Regions from separate parts of the Homo sapiens genome. Here regions 1 and 2 are each linked to region 3. Evidence: promoter capture Hi-C in 16 types of primary human blood cells and fetal thymus (Javierre and others, 2016). All regions are on one chromosome and are shown on one strand. The core of a region is centred on a gene start or on the middle of the fragment in contact, and the rest is flanking DNA. Distances in the headings are between cores, read along the strand shown.

Evidence for each region. The method cuts DNA at HindIII sites, captures the fragments that hold promoters and counts their contacts. A CHiCAGO score of 5 or more calls a contact.
Region 1: a contact is called between a fragment that was not itself captured here and the fragment with the promoter of ZNF571-AS1 in region 3, in 1 of 17 cell types (monocytes). The highest score is 5.2, in monocytes.
Region 2: a contact is called between a fragment that was not itself captured here and the fragment with the promoter of ZNF571-AS1 in region 3, in 1 of 17 cell types (naive B cells). The highest score is 5.5, in naive B cells.

What each region holds. Positions count from the first base shown.
Region 1 is chr19:36,881,840-36,885,300 of GRCh38, reverse strand. It overlaps a transcript of ZNF345 not described here. Among named protein-coding and RNA genes, the nearest start is that of ZNF345, 33 kb to the right of the region's middle. The HindIII fragment of the contact is 832 bases long and covers 1,601-2,432 here.
Region 2 is chr19:36,981,201-36,984,706 of GRCh38, reverse strand. It overlaps a transcript of ZNF568 not described here. Among named protein-coding and RNA genes, the nearest start is that of ZNF568, 67 kb to the right of the region's middle. The HindIII fragment of the contact is 491 bases long and covers 1,111-1,601 here.
Region 3 is chr19:37,547,205-37,550,552 of GRCh38, reverse strand. ZNF571-AS1 (ZNF571 antisense RNA 1) reads right to left here and starts at 1,604. Exons shown (of 6, transcript NR_038248.1): 1 at 1,398-1,604. It overlaps LOC124904708, which reads left to right. Exons shown (of 2, transcript XR_007067248.1): 1 at 1-2,661. The HindIII fragment of the contact is 14,204 bases long and covers 1-3,348 here.

The DNA of each region.
Region 1 (3,461 bases), core at 767-3,266, 670 kb after region 3:
AAGCTAGTAAGCAAGCATATGAAAAGGTATTCAACATTATTAGTCATTGGAAGTGAAAATGTAACTTTCTACATACTTATATAACTATATAATAGTTATATAATATTTCTATATATAATTCTAGTAACTAATACATTAGTATAGTCCCATTAGAATGACTATACAATACTAAGTGTGAAGAGGACATACAGCAAATGAAACCCTTACAGATTCTTTGTGGGAGTGTAAATTTGCACAATCACTTTGGAAAACTGACATTTACTAAATATAGCCTATCTCTGACTCAGCAATTCCATTCTGAAGTATACTGCCAATAGAAAAGAGTAAATATGTCTACATAAAGACATGTATAAGAAGGTTCCCAGAGTTGTAGAAACAATACAGATACCCATCAACGAAAGAATGAGTAAGTCAAAGTATATTCCTGTATAGTGATAAATTAACTTCACCCAAAGAGAGGTCTTGCCTTTACCTTGGGTACTGGGAGGCCCACTGGGGGTACTCTAGGCCTCTGGAATGTCCTGCCCAATAACAGTGTCTTGGTTTGGCTGGGTGCTTTGGATGGCCACCCGACAGTATAACATGATTTATGATGAGTGCTTTGAGGCATGCTATCTCAGTTTTGACTTCTGGGGAAATGGCAGACAAACAGTATTAGACAAACCAGCAAGAAGGGCAGAAAGACAAAGGTCAGCTATGTGGGCAGTATATTATCAAACCCCAAGAAAAACACTGGAAACCAAAGGCTAAGGTGAGCTTCCCTGGATTGCAACACTTATCAGTACACATTGTAGCTGGAAGGAGGTAATGCCATCCAGGACTCCATAGGGATAGGATGACCAGAAGACTCATCTTTGGACCCCTCTCAGACTTCATTCTATGTGTCTCTTCCTCTGGCTAGTTGTAATTTGTATCCTTTCACTATAATAAGGTTGTAATCATAGGCCAGGTGCGGTGGCTCATGCCTGTAATCCCAGCACTTTGGGAGGCTGAGGTGGGCAGATCACTTGTGGTCAGGAGTTCAAGACCAACATGGTGAAACCTCGTCTCTACTAAAAGTACAAAAATTTAGCTGGGCATGGTGGTGGGTGCCTGTAATCCCAGCTACTCACGAGGCTGAGGCAGGAGAATCGCTTGAACCCAGGAGGCGGAGGTTGCAGTGAGCCGAGATCGTGCCACTGCACTCCAGCCGGGGCAACAGGAGCAAGACTCTGTCTCAAAAAAAATAAAAATAAATAAGTTGTAATCATAGGTATAGTATTATCTTGAGTTCTGTGAATTATTATACTGAATTATCAAGGGTAGTCATGACAAGTCCCAAATTTGTAGTCAGCTGGTCTGAAGTATGGGTAGCCCTTGGAACCTCTGAACTTGTGCCTGGTGTCTGAAATGAGGGCAGTCTTGTGGAAACTATTCCTTCAGACTTCAGTTTCTCTAACTCAGTGCAATTCCCATAAAACACTACATAAATAAAAATGAATATTATGTCTGAGAGAGCCATCCTTATTGTTGCATGAAATAATGTTGAGCAAAAGAAACCAGACACAAAAAGGGTTCAGCGTACGATTCCATTTACATGAAGTGGAAAAACATGTAAGCTTATCTCTGGTTATGGAAATTAGGAGAGGGGCTATTTCTGGGCAATGGAATATTAATAGCAAAGCAGCACAAAGAAGCCTCCTTAGGCTGTAAATGTATATCAGTCTGGGCAGTGCTTACATAGGTGTACAATATTACTTCATCAAGTTTAACACTTAGAATTTATGCTATTGCCACCAGTATTTTATATACCTAAATAAAAATAATTCAAGTAGTGTAGAGAAGGCTACTGAACGTAGTGAGTGTGGAGTTCAAGGGAAACAAACCCACGGGGGTGAAATCACCAAGGAACAATTAAGTATAATTAGTAAATGTGTCAGAGGCTGAGTCTTAGAAAACTTCAATCTTTAGGGAACAGAGAGATGAAGAGAAACGATGCATTAAATGACCATGACGAGTAGCTACATAGGAAAGAGCAACAGAGTTTGAGAATTTTAGTTACTTTTCTGCTCTTTAATAGAAAAAGATATTTTAAAAGGTGATTTCATAGAAATTGAGTAAGCCTGCCTATAGATATATGGTGTTCTCCAATTAAAATACAAAAACAAATTGGGTTAAAAATAAAACACTAACTATATGGTGTTTATAAGGATATATACCTAGAACAAGCTGACACAACAGACCTAGTGCAGCTCTACTGGCCAAAGCAGAATTTTCAATATTAGAGAAATTGGAATTCAACATCACAGTGAAAAATACAGCAACCAAACATAAAAAGTAAAACCCCTATATTAACAGAAGACCTTGAAACAATATAGCTGGGCGTTTTGTGCCCACTTTTCAGAATTAAACAAAATAATCAGAGGATATTTAAATAATATAATCACGAAGCTTAATATAATTAAGTAGAACTTTGTGTTTTATAGAGAATATATATTATTTCACATCATATATCTATAAAATGTATTAAAAACCTAACGTATATTTGGCCACAAATAATAAATTAATGTTTTAACTTTTTAATGAAGTTTCACAGATCACACACATTATAAGTTCATATGCTAAATTTTTTTCACAGGTTTTTGAAAATTTAGAAACACACACAAACATACAGACACCTAGGTAACTAGTGAATCAAAGAGAAATCAAGATTAAAATAATAATTATCTAGAAGTTAATTTTTAAAAAACTATGGGGCCAGGTGCAGTGGCTCACGCCTGTAATCCCAGCACTTTGGGAGGCCGAGGCGGGCGGATCACGAGGTCAAGAGATCGAGACCATCCTGGCCAACATGGTAAAACCCCGTCTCTACTAAAAAATACAAAAATTAGCCAGGCGTGGTGGCGCATGCCTGTAGTCCCAGCTACTCAGGAGGCTGAGGCAGGAGAATCACTTGAACCTGGGAGGCGGAGGTTGCAGTGAGCCGAGATCACGCCACTGCACTCCAGCCTGGTGACAGAGCGAGACTCCATCTCAAGAAGAAAAAAAAACCATGGGCCCCAGATACAGCAATATTCAAAGGAAATCTTGTAGCCTTAAATGCTTCCAATTTAAAAGAGACTGAAAATATATTAACCAAGCACATGTACTCAACAGAAATACACACAAATAAAAAGAAAATAGTGAAATATATTTTTGAAATAGAAAAAGCAAACAAAAATAGTCAAAAGCATGAAGAAAACCCAGATAAGGTTTTTTTTAAAAAAAAAACAAGTAAAATGAATGGGACTCCTTCAAATCAATTTAGAGGAATAAAGTGGTTTAAAAATAAAACTATGAGTAGAAATACAAATATATATACAGAGACTGAAAACTGAAAGCCAATTCTGTTTGCCAATATCAACGAATTTGAAAATCTAAAGAAAAGGAACCATTAAAATCATTGATGAAGTAGTTTATCAGTTCTAAAATGCACTTTTTAC
Region 2 (3,506 bases), core at 107-2,606, 570 kb after region 3:
AAGATGTTAAAAAAAAAACAAACACCAAAATCAGAGAGAAATTTACTATTTAATTCCATCTAAAGGAAAGTGATCCCAGATGGAGAGCTTGACATGTAAGAAAGAATGGTGAACCAAGAAAGTCGTAAATACATGGATAATCTAAGATAACACTCAATACATAAAATAAAAATTTCTTATGGGTTAAAAAAAGAAGAAAAATACCTGACAATAATGTAAGTTGTTTGATTAGTTAGAATATATCCTACTTCCTTATTTACCAAGAATATAATAATATTTTTTAGTTTTAGACACTAGTAAGTTAAGAAAGTATATTGAAATTTTCAAGGTAACCACTAAATAAACACAAATAGCTTATAACTTTCAAACTCATAGAAGGGAAAATGAAATGAAGATAATGAAATACAGAAAAGGTAGAATTAAAAGCACAAAAATGATACCTTCAATTATATTAGTAATTACAAGCACTGTAAATGACTAAATACTCTCGTTAAAGAACAAAGCTGGTCGCCAGGTGCGGTGGCTCATGCCTGTAATCCCAGCACTTTGGGAGGCCGAGGTGGGGGGATCATGAGGTCAGGAGATCGAGACCATCCTGGCTAACACGGTGAAACCCCCTCTCTACTAAAAATACAAAAAAATTGGCCAGGCGTGGCGGCATGCACCTGTAATCCCAGCTACTCGGGAGGCTGAGGCAGGAGAACTGCTTGAACCCAGGAAGTGGAGGTTGCAGTGAGCCGGGATCGCACCACTGCACTCCAGCCTGGGCGACAGAGCGAGACTCTGTCTCAACAAAAAAAAAAAAAAAAAAAAGGACAAAGTTGGTCAAAGTTGTCAAAAACCAAAGCCCAGCTCTACGCTGGTTATTAGAGACACATCCAAAACATAAATATTCAGAAAGATGACAGTTAGAAAAGGATAATTTTATGCTTACCTAATAAATAATAAATACATATTATATATACATACACATATGCATAAATGAAATAGAAACTCTAATAGACGAACCCTAATCACAGTGGCAGATTTTAACAAAACACTAGAAATAACTGATAGATACAACAGACAAAAAGTCAGTAAAAACAGAATATTTAGATACTAAATTAAGCTTGATCTAATGGCTGCATATAGAACAATGCACTCAATTCAAATAACATTCTTCTCAATCATATATGGAAGATTTTGAAAAACTGACCACCCTGGACCTTAACAAAAGAGAAAAACATTTTGCATGAATGAATACATACTAAGAAAACGATGCACATTAACACGACTGCCTTATGGGCGGGGGGAGGATGCGGGTAGTAAATGGCATAGAAGACAGGGAATAAACAAATAATCTGAAGAGTGGCCTTGCTCACACCATTGATAACATGAGTACTCCCAGATCCTACCATGGGAAAAAGAAAAGGAAAACTGATATATTTTATGAGGCTAGACCAGAGGTCAGCAAACTTTTTTTGTCAAGGGCCAAATAGTAAGTATCTTAGGCTCTGTGGGACATACCATCTCTGCTGCAACTCCTCAACTCTGCCATGCAGCACAGAAGCAGCCATAGATGTTACATAAATGGATGAATGTGGTTATGTTCCAATAAAGCTTTATTCATGAACACTAAAATTTGAATTTCATATAATTTCCATGTGTCATAAAATATAATTCTTTTGATTATTTCCCCCAACCATTTAAAAATGTAGAAAACAATCTTGGTTCACAGGCCAAGGCCACAGTTCTCCTGGGATAGAGTAACTTGTATAAAGACATTATGAAGAATTGAAATTACTGGCCAGTCTTACACATGCCACAGATTTAAAATTCTAAGCAAGTTATTAGCAAACTGAATCCAGTAATATGTAAAAATTCATCACACATCATGGCTAAGTTAGGTTTTTCCCAATAAAGGTGTACATGATACTGGAAATAAATTAAAATTATTAGGCACGTTAACAGATTAAAGAGAAAACACTTAGGATCATTTCTTTTCTTTTCTTTTTCTTTTTGAGATGGAATTTTGCTCTTGTCACCCAGGCTGGAGTGCAATGGCGCGATCCTGGCTCACTGAAACCTCTGCCTCCCAGGTTCAAGCGATTCTCCTGCCTCAGCCTTCCAAATAGCTAGGATTACAGGCACCTGCCACCTCGCTCGGCTAATTTTTTGTTGTTGTATTTTTAGTAGAGATGGGGTTTCACCATGTTGGCCAGGCTGGTCTCGAATTCCTGATCTCAGGTGATCTGCTCGACTAAGCCTCCCAAAGTGCTGGGATTACAAGCATGAGCCACCACACCTGACCAATCAATTCAATGGATGCAGAAAAGGCATTTTAAAAATGCAATATTCCTTCATGATAAAAACTCAAGAGCGAATTAGCAATAAAAAGCAACGTCCCTAACCTGATAAAGGACACCTACAAAAAAAACAAGTGCAAACATAAGTAAAAGTGAAGTATCTAAAACTGTGAATAAGACAGGGTGCCCATATTCACCATTCAAAACTGTTCTGGGAGGTGGAGCCAGTGCAGCAAGATAAGAATTAAAATAAAGGTTAAAAAAGAAGAAAAGAAATCAATACTAATAGACAAAGACAATTATTTACAACCAAAAAGTATCTTTATTCATCAATGATATGATCAAGTTGGATGACCCCACATCCAAAAGAATCTACAAGACGTCAGAATAAATAAGAGTTAAGCAAGGTGGGGGGATATAAAATCAATATCTCAAAATCAACTGCAATAATCTGTCATAGGAGTTTTAAGAAAAAAAAAAATCAATGGCAAGTCTATATACCAGAAACAATGAGAAAATTATATTTTATTTTATTTACTTTTTTTTTTGAGACTGGGTCTTGCTCTGTCACCCAGGCTGGAGTGTAGTGGCATAATCATAGCTCACCGCAGCCTCATCCTCCTGGGCTTGAGTGATTCTCCTACCTCAGCCTACCAAGTAGCTGGGACTACAGGCATGCACCATCATGCCTGGCTAATTTTTTATTTATAGTAGAGATGGGGTCTCACTATGTTGCCCAGGCTGGTCTCAAACTGCTGGGCTTAAGTGATTCGCCTGCCTCGGTCTCCTTACGTGTTGGGGTTACAGGCGTGAGTCACAGCACCCAGTCTATATTCTAAAGTTAATGTCATCTAAGAAAAACACAAAATATAAAAATACCTGGAAATAAAATTAACAAAAGATGTGTAAGACTCTAATTATAAAATATTTATTGAAAACCATTCCACAAGACTCAAGTAAGCAGAGTTATTTAGAGGCAGAGGAAGACTCAATACCGTAAAAATGTCAACTTTCCCCAAATTGATCGAAGGTTTAATGCATTATAAATCATTATCCCAACTGGATTTCTACAGAAATTGATAAGCCAATTCTAAAATGTATATGAAGCCAAAACCTAGGAACAGCTAAGACCTTTCTAGAGAACAGGACCATAGTAGAGGCATGTGACTTACCAAATATCAGACATTACTAGAAAGCAGTCTTTAGGCAGTATGGTTTAAA
Region 3 (3,348 bases), core at 355-2,854:
CACCGGGATCACAACCCACCACCGGGTCTACACCCAGCTAACCCCCAGTCCCTTTTGCTCCGTGAAATCCCTGGCAACGAAAAGGTGCAGTGCTGAGAGGCAGTCCCAGCCAGGAACAGAGCAATGGGAGACCCCTCAACAATGAGAAAACACCAGCAGATGAGATGAAACATAGCCTTCATTAGAAGGCAAAGGCCAGCTACGGCTGGCTACCTCTCATTCTATGTGAATCATGCAGCCATCTGATGCAATGGGGAGACCAAGAGTTTCCTTATTGGGGAAAGCTACGGGCACCCACGGTTCCAAGAGCATCACAGCTACCCAGTCATTAAGAAATGTGAGTGTTGAGAAGGAAACACTCATCACCTACGTCCCCGCCAAGGTGGTCCTGGACGAACTGGGAAACATTTGCTGTGAAGGACGTTCTGGAGGACTGTGAGCCAGACCAAGGAAAACCTGGGCCGACGAGAATCAGGGAAGGCAAGAAAAGAGGGAGAACAGAGTAGAGGCCGCAGCCCAGGCAGGATCAATCCATCCCACTCCCATGTGCCTCGGGGAACCAGGGTCCAACAGGGGACCTGGCCAGAAAGGCGACAGTCTTCGGTCCAAAGGTTCTCCGAACACTCGTGTCTTCTATCGCCAGCACAGCGCCATGGTGTGGACAGGTTGTACAGTGAAGAGGAAAAGGGGATGGCGTTGGAAACAGTTTCTTTGACATCTGTCTGCACCTGTTCTGCAGGTGAAGGTGCGAGACCTCCTCCACACCTCAGCGGATTGTATCTTCACCCCCATCTGACCTTTTTTCTGCACACATCCTTTAATCCAGAATGAAATCTGAAGAGGATGAAGGAGTGCCCGCCTCAGGTCCTGAAGCTGCGACTCCGCCAGCCACCGAATTAGAAGTGGGCTCAAGGGGGTACTGAGGACAGGACAGCTAGGGTCCGTCCAGCCTTGGGTGTGCCGCAGGACCATGGGCCCCTGGAGGAATTTGTTCTTGGTTGTCGTGTGCTGGTCTTCTTTCTGGAAGAGTGGGCGGCTTGGGAGGGGAGGTGATTTGGACGTTTGCGGGTCGCAGCCAGCCCCCCACTTCACCGAGGCTTTAGGAACCAAGAGCGAAACAAAGAACGCTTGCCCCGCAACCCAAGCCCGGCCAAAGAGACGGGCGCATCAGAGCGTAGGCGAACTACAGAGAAACCGCGCTTCACTGCACGAGCCACATTTCTTTCACCGCACACCACACACACACTCACACGCACACACAGAAAGACACACGGAAACATCCAACAGTCGCACAGAAACACACACAGCCAGGCAGCTCCTGAGGCTGCGCGGTTCTGCTCTCTGCCAGGAAACCCCTCCGGAAAGAGAGCGCCCCGGGGAACACAGGCAGGCCGTACCTCGAAATCCCAGCGGGGACACCTGTCAGGGAGACGCACCCTCACACCGCCCATGCATGCCCGACGCATCTTTGGGATCCTTAGGGATCACGTGGTGCTTCCTTGAATCTCCGCTTGAGGTTTCTTCAGGCAGGTTCGGCCTTGCCCGACTCCTAGGATCGCAGGACCATGGCGACGATCCCGCGGAGAGGGGACGCACTGCCACAGACGCCTGGGGGCCAAGCCGCTGGGGCCAGTCCCCCGGCAACGGTGGCGGTTACTGTGACGCGAGTCCCCCCTCAGCGCTAGCGCCTGGTGATCGCGCCTGGTACGTGCACTTTCGCGTTCCCGGTTTGTGGGCCGCATTGTCAGGGCTCTCAGGCTGCAGCCCAATAGGAAAACAGTGGAGGCCGTGCAGGCGGCGGTTCGGGGAAGGAGACTGCATGCGACAAGCAGCGCAGGACCCTGACTGTCGTGACCTCAGTGCCTCCTTGAGCCGACCTCGTGTTTGGGTCCGGGTGTAGGAGGAGGTGCTTCAGACCGTGAGGTGGGCACTCGGGATTGCTCTTCTGATTTGATTCTGGACTGGAATCAAATTGGAATTGACCCGGAATTGGGTCCCACGGGGCTGGGGAACCAATCTGGTGAGGTGTGGAGGGGTCGCTGGTGCACAGAAACATACCGGATACCCTCGGGGTGGGTGTCAGCAGAACATTCCTCGGCTCCATGAGCTGACTGCCTCCCTTTGATCTGGGCCTCCCAGGGCTCTTCCTGCGTCTCCAAGCTCAGGGGCTCCTGCTTCTCAGCACTGCTGTCTGGAAAAGGCGGGAACGAGGACTAAGGCAAGCCCAGTGTGGGGCAGAGATGGCAACACCTGGAACTAGCTTTTCATGGGGGCAGATAATGTGGAGAGTGTCCCAATTACATCTCCCTTTATTCTATCCCATACTACTAAACCCCACCAGCTATTTGCCTACAAACTGTGTATCAGTCAGGACATCAGGACACCAAGATAAAGGACTAGAGTTTGGTAATCAACTACTGGCTCCTCCAGCAGCTCAGAATGTGGCCTGTATGCATCACTTCACTTAATTCATTCAAGAAATGCTGACTGAGTTCCTGCTGTGTGTTGGACACTTTCTTAGAAGTGGGACACACTGCAGTGTGTGGGACAAAGGCTGGGCCGCTCATTGCTTATGTTCTAGTTGAAGAGAGAGTCAATCAACAACATTCTACTTTCAGACATTGATAAATGCTGTCATGAAAAGACAAGGAACATGAAAAGGTAAGAAAAGGGATGGAGAGAGATGGGATGAGGGGTGCCTGGGCAGACAATGCAATGATCTGGCAAAAGAGTAGGACAATCATGAGACTGCATGTGTTCCAGTTTCTGCTGCTGTAAAACAGCATCCACAGGTTACATCTTTACTATTCTGTTACATACATACTATTATTTAAATAAAAAATAGTACTAGTTAACTGTGAAAATTGCAATTAATAGGGCAGATTAAACAAATCCTTTAAATTTAAACAAATGTTTTATGGTTTTTTATCCTCTGATACATTGTTTCAACTTTAAAAAACCCTCTTTATTTGATATTTAAACTCTATATTAATGTATATTCTTAAGATACATAAATTTAAGATTTTTTTCGAGACAGGGTCTCATTCTGTCACACAGTCTGGAGTGCTGTGGTGCAATTATGGTTCACTGCAGACTCCACCTCTCCAGGCTCAGATAATCCTCCTGCCTCAGACTCCTGAGTATCTGGGACCACAGGTGTGCATCACCACACCCAGCTAATTTCTTGTATTTTTTTGTTGGGATGGGGTTTTGCGATGTTGCCCAGGCTGGTCTCAAACTCCTGGGCTCAAGTGATCTGCCTGCCTTGGTGTCTCAAAGTGTTGGGATCACAGGCGTGAGCCACCACATCCAGCCTAATTTAAGATTTTTAAAAAGCAGAATGTAAAT